Linked DNA regions of Homo sapiens: region 2 is linked to region 1. Evidence: promoter capture Hi-C in 16 types of primary human blood cells and fetal thymus (Javierre and others, 2016). All regions are on one chromosome and are shown on one strand. The core of a region is centred on a gene start or on the middle of the fragment in contact, and the rest is flanking DNA. Distances in the headings are between cores, read along the strand shown.

What was found. The method cuts DNA at HindIII sites, captures the fragments that hold promoters and counts their contacts. A CHiCAGO score of 5 or more calls a contact.
Region 2: a contact is called between a fragment that was not itself captured here and the fragment with the promoter of FTX in region 1, in 1 of 17 cell types (monocytes). The highest score is 5.1, in monocytes.

Annotation. Positions count from the first base shown.
Region 1 is chrX:74,291,835-74,295,604 of GRCh38, reverse strand. FTX (FTX transcript, XIST regulator) reads left to right here and starts at 2,031. Exons shown (of 7, transcript NR_028379.1): 1 at 2,031-2,253. It overlaps LOC124905199 (a long non-coding RNA gene), which reads left to right and starts at 3,009. Exons shown (of 2, transcript XR_007068266.1): 1 at 3,009-3,770. RefSeq lists an enhancer at 2,777-3,567. The HindIII fragment of the contact is 8,135 bases long and covers 1-2,936 here.
Region 2 is chrX:74,447,316-74,451,066 of GRCh38, reverse strand. The region is part of intron 1 of SLC16A2 (solute carrier family 16 member 2); the gene reads right to left. Among named protein-coding and RNA genes, the nearest start is that of SLC16A2, 28 kb to the right of the region's middle. The HindIII fragment of the contact is 1,111 bases long and covers 1,180-2,290 here.

The sequences.
Region 1 (3,770 bases), core at 782-3,281:
CATGTGGTGGTGTTGGGAGGTGAGGCTTAAAGGGAGGTGTTTGAGTCATGGGGGCACCACTCTTATGAATAGCTTAATGCTATTATTGAGGGAGTGGGTTTGTTATTTCAGTAGTGGGTTCCTTATTAAAGGATGAGTTCTGGCCCCCTCTTGCGCGCACTCTCTCTTTCTCTATCTCTTTGCCCTTCCACCATGGGATGATGTAGCAGGAAAGCCACTGTCAGATGCCAGCTCCTCAGTCTTGGACTTCCCATTCTCCAGAACTGTGAGGAAATAAATTTCTGTTCTTTATAAATTGCCGAGTCTGCAGTATTTTGTTACAGTGGTACATAATGGACTAAGACAATACTAATGGGTATGAAGTTTCTTTTTGGGGTGATGAAAATATTCTAAAATTGATTGTAGTGGTGGCTGCATAATTCTGTGAATATACTAAAATCCATTGCATTGTACACTTTAAGTTGGTTAACTGTATGATATGTAAATTATATATTAATAAAACCATTAAAACAGAAAAATAACAGAGATAAGAGCATTTGTTAAAATAGTGTTGTAGAATTTGGGGTAAAATTTCTTATATTTTAACTTTTGTGTAATAATAAATGATTATTTTAATTTAGAAGAGGTTCTTTGTACCACTGAGATTTCGGCATTTCTTTTTTATTTAATGCATGCCTATTTCTCTTTTTTCTTCTTCATATGCACATTGTTGTATAATTTTTTGGGCGTATTATATAACAAATGCAAACCCATTTTTCTCTGAATAATGTTGATATAACATTCTTAAGTTAATTTGAGAGGATGGTGATGTATAAGTTTATGAGTTTTAGGATTTATGAATTTGCGGGTCTCAGTTTTTGGTATTTCCAAACTGGCTCTTTTAGAAAGCAATAAGAACCAGACACCAAAGTAAAACATAATAAAGAGAAACAAAATATTATTTTGTATTCTTTCTAGTTCACACCCAAAGAGGGATCTATTTCAGAGCCTCTTAAGTAAATAATGCCATTTCCCTCAAAATTAATATTTGAGTTCTTACAGAAGACAAGAACAGGCCTTGTAGTAAGCAGTGAAGGACATTGAATCTCATTTTTAATGTCCAGACAATACCAGGGTTGTGAATAGAAAGAAAAGAGCTTTCCATGTTGGTGGTCTACTGCCTCTTACCCCCAAATTGATTGAACACTTTTGCAGTTTTTGTTCTGGTTCCCTGTCTCTGGATCTTCCCTGTGGGTCATCATCAAAAAGGTGTTCTCTTTGCCCAAGACAGGCTGGTTGAGCTCACCCTGAGAGCTGCTTTGGAGAGGATGTGTGGAAATATTTTTTTTCTTTTTTTGAGATGGGGTCTCACTCTGTTGCCCAGGCTGGCAACATCATAGCTGGCACAATCATAGCTCACTGTAGCCTCGACTTCCTGGGCTCGAGTGATTCTTCCACCTCAGCCTTCTGAATAGCTGGGAGTACAGGTGCGCACCACCACGCCCGGCTAATTTTTGTATTTATTTGTAGAGACGGGGTTTCGCCATGTCACCCGAGCTGGTCTCGAACTCCTGAACTCAAGGGTTCCGTCCACCTCGGCCTCCCAAAGTGCTGGGATTACAGGTGTGAGCCACCGCGCCCGGGCTACAATTATTTAAAAAAAAATTTTTGCGGTAATTTTTACAAATTTCAACATCAGGCATAGGAGGAGAGGAGTAAGAGGCCCAAGAGGGCTGCAGACTGGCAGGGAAAGTGAAGAATTGAAGGGTAGACCACTAACGATAGCAGAGGAAATAAAGGTAGATGGTGGGCTAAGAATAATGGGAGAGGGATTGACGAAAGAAGTATGGGCTGAGGGAGGGATGATGGTGGAGGCCAGTGTGACCGAGGGGAGGGGAAAGGTGGAAGAAGCAGAGTGGGATAGCGTCCTGGGAAAGAAGTGAAGGAGGTCGGTGGACCGCTAAGGGTTAGACTCCTAGAGGCTGGAGAGCGGCGCGTGGGGGAGGCGGGGCGCGGAGGGGGGGTTAAGGGGCGTTAGCAGCGCATGCGCTGGAAGCACACTGCGGCGATTCTGGAGAGGTTGTCCTTTTCTGGCATCAGCGTTGCGGCTCGAGGCAAAGCTGGTCCTGTGCCTGCTGTCCATTGCCGCTAAGGCCTGCTGCTGCCATTCAGGCGTGTCTCTCTCTCTCTCTCTCTTTCATGCCGCTCTCTCCACCCCATCTTGGGACGGCCAGCTCTAAGAATTCCTGCTACGACACTGAATTCAACCAGGAGGTAAAGGAACGATGTAGGGGAAGAACAGAACATGGAGGGCGGCGGAGGGAACTTGGGCCAGGAAGATCCTTAATTTGTGCATTTTTCCAGTTCACGGGAGGAAAAAATGGAATACGTTACAGGCCCCAGTTTTCCAAAAGGATGTTGAGCATTTGCTTCCCATTGTGAAAGGAATGCGGGTTCCTTTCCTCTAACTAGAGTCAAGGCACCTGAGCATCGGTGTTTTCCATAATGTTCCCTGTTTAAAACATTTGTGGTTCGTCATTTGTAGCAGATGTATTTAAAGGGCGAGGCCTTAGGATTATGTTCATCCGATGGTTTGTGAAAGTTTTCCTTGCCTTTGTTCAGGTTGACCGGTCTTATGTGAATCCTGGGGTACTCTAGCCCCCTCCCTTGGAGTTGGGACCGATTCCATCTAGATCTGGGATTCACTCTGATCACCTGCAACGCCTTCTTTCCCCGATTCAACTTCCCTAGTTTATCGCATCTACTCGCATTAGGGAAGGCTGGTAATGGCTCTCCTTGGGCACTGGGGCAGAATTGTGGCGAGAAACACGTCCAGATAGCATCAGGCATGCATACTGTATACAAATGGGAGCAAGAAGAGAGAGGACTATCGCGGTGCGCAGGGTATTTGAGAGGCTGGATGAGGAGGCGCGGCGCCGAGGGGCGGCGCTCAAGCTTACAGTATTTGAGAAGACCTGAGTTAAGGGGACGGGCTCCAGTGGGGCGGGGGTGGGGAGAGGGAGGCACGCATGCGCAAGGCTTGAATGGCGTCGGGGTTGGAGGGTTGGAAGGTCGGGAAGTGAAGGACTCGCAGGCATATTTAACAACGCAAAGTTGCTAGGAGTTGGTACCAGCGTTTGGGAGGTAGAGGTGGCGCTCATGCATATTTGAGACAACATCTGGATGGTTGGGGAGAACGGTAAGGAGGAAGCGGCGCGCATGCGTATTTCAGACGGAGTGCCGGGGAGGGGAGGCGCTCAGCATTCGGGTAATTAAGGTTGCAAAATGGCGAGGGGGGAGGTAAGCTGTCTTTGCTTGGCCATCTTGGGCTAGCAGGCCTTGCAGAGAACTACCTTTTTAGCTGAGTGAAGGGATCAACCTGAGTTGGAGTTCTCCTATGCTGTGGCCAGATCCACTAGAAATTAACCCAGAATCTTAGCCTCTCAGTGGCCTATCGGTAAGTGGGTACAAAAATGAGGAGGCGATGATGACTCTGCAAAAGGTTGCGGCAGCTGGCGGTGCGTAGGAAATGCGTAAAAAGGGAGCACTTGGAGACAGGCCACATTTGGGCAGTACGCATTCGGAGGGCTCTCTGGCTTTCCGATCTTGGGTCGCTGTACTTGGCTCTGAATACAGTCACCCCATCAGAGTAGCAAAACACTGTGGTTGTAGTGTGAGAATCCAATGTTAATGTTGGCCGAAAGCTCTTGATTTTCTTCCCTGAGAACATAGGCGTGAGGATTTGGATGTGTTTCCAAATGCTTGTTACTCTTTGCCGTAAACCTGGAATT
Region 2 (3,751 bases), core at 486-2,985, 160 kb before region 1:
CATGTGTTTTACCCACAGATCCCCATGGAAACCCAATTCAGAGAGACAAAAAGGGAAAGGCCCACTAAGAGAGACTCTACCTTTTCTGGTTTTCTGCCTAGTTCCCTTTAATCCCAGGCAGGTTGGTCTGTGTATATTTTTATGGCTGCATAAGACTTTTAAAATCAAGACCTATGTGCTTATAACAGTGGACAAGAATTTTGTTCTGCAATGACCAGGACTCCCAGATCTCCAACAGCTTACTGACTCCAACCACTACCAGAGCCAAGGGGATATTGTCTGGTCAACATACTTCTCATGGGACATCAAAGACAAGGCAGAGGAGGCAAGGAGCGGAGGACCTTGAATGTTGTGCCTTTGTGTCATAGGAGTGAGACCTAATCAGCAATCCCCATTGGCATAATGGGAAGCAGTGGCTTCTCTGATATTGGCTTGGTCCAAAACCCCAAGTTATATTCTTTTCCCTATCAGCATGATCCCAATACTATCTGATGACTAGATGGAAGTTTCTTTTACTTCTTTGGGTGGGGCGGGGCAGAGCAGGGGTGGTGGCGGCAAGTGGTATTTGGTACAAGAGTACGGATCACAGAATTATGAACTCCCAGAAATGGAAGACCCCTAAAAGATCACTGAGTTCAGTGCAAAATTCTACAGAGGAAGAGACTTAGACCCAAAGAGAGGAACATGCTCAAGGTCACAAGATGGATTAGTGGCTGATCCAGGTCTCCTGACTCAGCTAGCATTATTTCCTTTAGCTTTTAGGTATGTTTAGTCTTCATCTGTTCGGCCATTATTCATTCAACAAATATTTATTGAGCATCTATTATGTGCCAGCCAGCCCTTGTGCTAGGCCCTGGGGCATATAATGGGGGTGGAGGGTCCATAATTTCTCAATAGAAAGGGCTTAGGGAAAGCAATTTGGTTGGAAGGAGGTGACTAAAGGACTTGCCTTGATGCTTGCTAGCATAGCAAGTGCATGAGTTTTGCTTAAATTATCTATTTATTAGTCATGGCTTTGAGCGATGCTAAAATTCCCCAAGCTAGCCTTGTTGCTGTCACTAGTGGTGGAGGAAGGATGGACCATCCTGGTCGTCTATAGTGCCCTGTTGCAAGACAAAGATCATCCCATTATCCATAGGGGATTTTGAGGGAGGTGGGAGGGAAGAAGTGAAGGAAGCTTGTTGATGGGAGAAGGGTTAGGCAGAGGAGAAATTCCCAGAGTAAAACAGCTGCCAAACTTAAAAGAGTTCCTCACAACCAGGATGAATCAAGGCCTTTACAGTTAGAGAAACCACAGCCTGTTGGCACTGAGCCAGTGCCAGCAGGTAACCTACTTAGAGGGGTGTGTGGCTAAAGGAGTCAATGCACTGAGAAGTCGCACAGATGCTGCAGAGCTGAACAAGAGAGGACCAGGGAGGAGACCCTGAAAAACAGAGTTAGTTACATTGTCAGGCACCCACATCCAGTGGGAAAAGCAGTCTTCAATTGCATCTGACTGCCTTTGAGAAGTTGACATAACCAGAGTACAGTGGATCCAGGCTGTGTTGAGATGTTATCAGCACAAAGCCAACACAGCAGGGTGCAAATATATTATGCAAGTTACTTTGGAGGTTATATCTTGAGCCTTTGGGGCTAACAACATATGTTTTCCAAGAGTGGACTCAAGATATGCGATGAATGAAGGCAGGGAATGAGCATCACTCATTAGATACCCACCCCTGACCCTCCAGCTTGGCTCTTAAATTAGCATCACTCAATTAGAACAGAAAGGTTGTGAGTCCAAGCTACTCATTGCACAGGTGCAGAAATGGAGGCTTAGAGGAGTAAGGGCCTAGTCCACAGTCACACAGCAAATGAACATGACAGTGGTAAGGTTAGAACCCAGGTCTAATGACAGTCTGTGCTTCATTCATACTTCCCTCCCCAGTTTGGCACGAGCTCATCTTAACGCACAAAAATGCAAACTACTGAATGGTTAGTCCTGCCTTGCCTTCCACAGCCATCTTTTTATTCTACTTCCTATCCTGGCTCCAAGAACAGAAGACCAAGGCCCCAGACAGCCCTGCACAATTGGGCAGGGTGAAACACAGTGCTATGAGAGTGATAAGCACAGCTAAAGATGCGGGCATGAAGGAACAACTCTCAGGGGCTGTCTCAATGCTGGGTAACTGACATTTGAGGCATTTTTCAAAGCATGTCATTATCGCTGCACGTAAGGCTGCTGTCAGTGATAGTAATGGGAATGACGCCCAAATTCCCCTGAGATCAACACTCAGCCCCAGCCCAAGCTTCAGGTAACCTGGTGCCACTGGACATTCCAGCTCCCTCGGCACAAGAACTGGCCTCCATATTTCACATACTTCAAACTTTGCAGCCTGCCTTGCTTTTTGAAGGAAGGGGGACACCAACTCCTGCCCCAACCCATGGTCCCTGGAAACAGAGGCATAGGGTCTAAGAATGTATACCTGCCTAGTAAGTTGGGAGCCTAGCTTTAAGGATCAAGCTCAAGGACTTGGAGACCTCAGAGATGGATCTGACATGGTCCTACCATCAAAGTACTCACAGTTCTAGAGACATGGAAGGACAAGTAATTGATCAGAAAGGGTGAGAGAACATAATATTAGGTGTTCTATGCAAAGAGGAGATGATGAGAAGCAAGGCAGACATGCTCTGCCCTTACTTTCCCATCTGGCCACTTTGCTGTAGGCTCCTGCCCCTCTGAGCCTGGTTTCCTCATCCAAAAAAAAAAAAAAAAAAAAAAAAATCCAAAGGATTCAACCAGACAAATAGTTCCCAAACCTGTCCTATTATGAGAATCACCTGATAAGATTGTTTAAAATACAGACTTTGGGGCCTTACCTCAGAAATTCTGATTCAGTAGGTTTCATGAGCCCCAGGGAAGGTATATGTTCAACATACTCCTTACATGATTTTGATAGTCAGCTAGGGTTGGGAACCGTTGGGATGGATGACTGCTGAGAACTTTCTAGCCCTGTATGGCAGGTTTGGACCAAGTACTTTATCATAACAATGTCACTGTCACTGTCCAAAAGGTTTTTTTGTGTTTTTGTTTGCTTGTTTGAGACAGAGTCTCACTCTGTCGCCCAGGCTGGAGTGCAGTGGAGGGATCTCAGCTCACTGCAACCTCCGCCTCCCAGGTTCAAGTGATTCTCCCACCTCAGCCTTCTAAGTAGCTGGAATTACAGGCATGCACCATCATGTCTGGCTAATTTTTGCATTTTTAGTAGAGACGGGGTTTTGTCATGTTGACTGTTGACTAGGGTGTTCTTGAACTTCTGGCCTCAAGAAATCCACCCGCCTCAGCTTTCCAGAGTGCTGGGATTGCAGGCATGAGCCACTGTGCTCGGCCTTTTTTTTTTTTTAAATACATAGAAACAGGTTCTCACTCTGTTGCCCAGGCTGGAGTGCAGTGGTGAGTTCATAGCTCACTACAACCTTGAATTCCTGGGCTCAAGTGATCCTCTCACCCCAGCCTCCTGAGTAGCTAGGACTACAGTGTGCGAGCCACCATGCCTGGCTACTTTTTAAATTTTTTTGTAGAGACAGGGTCTCGCTATATTGTCCAGGCTGGTCTTGAACTCCTGGCCTCAAGTGATCCTCCCACCTCAGCCTCCCAAAGTGTTGGGATTACGGGTATGAACCACTACACCAGGCCCCCAGAAAGCTTTTTATCATGCAACTCCCTTCATATGACTTACGTCTGGGTACTTTTTTCACACAGGGAGTTAGT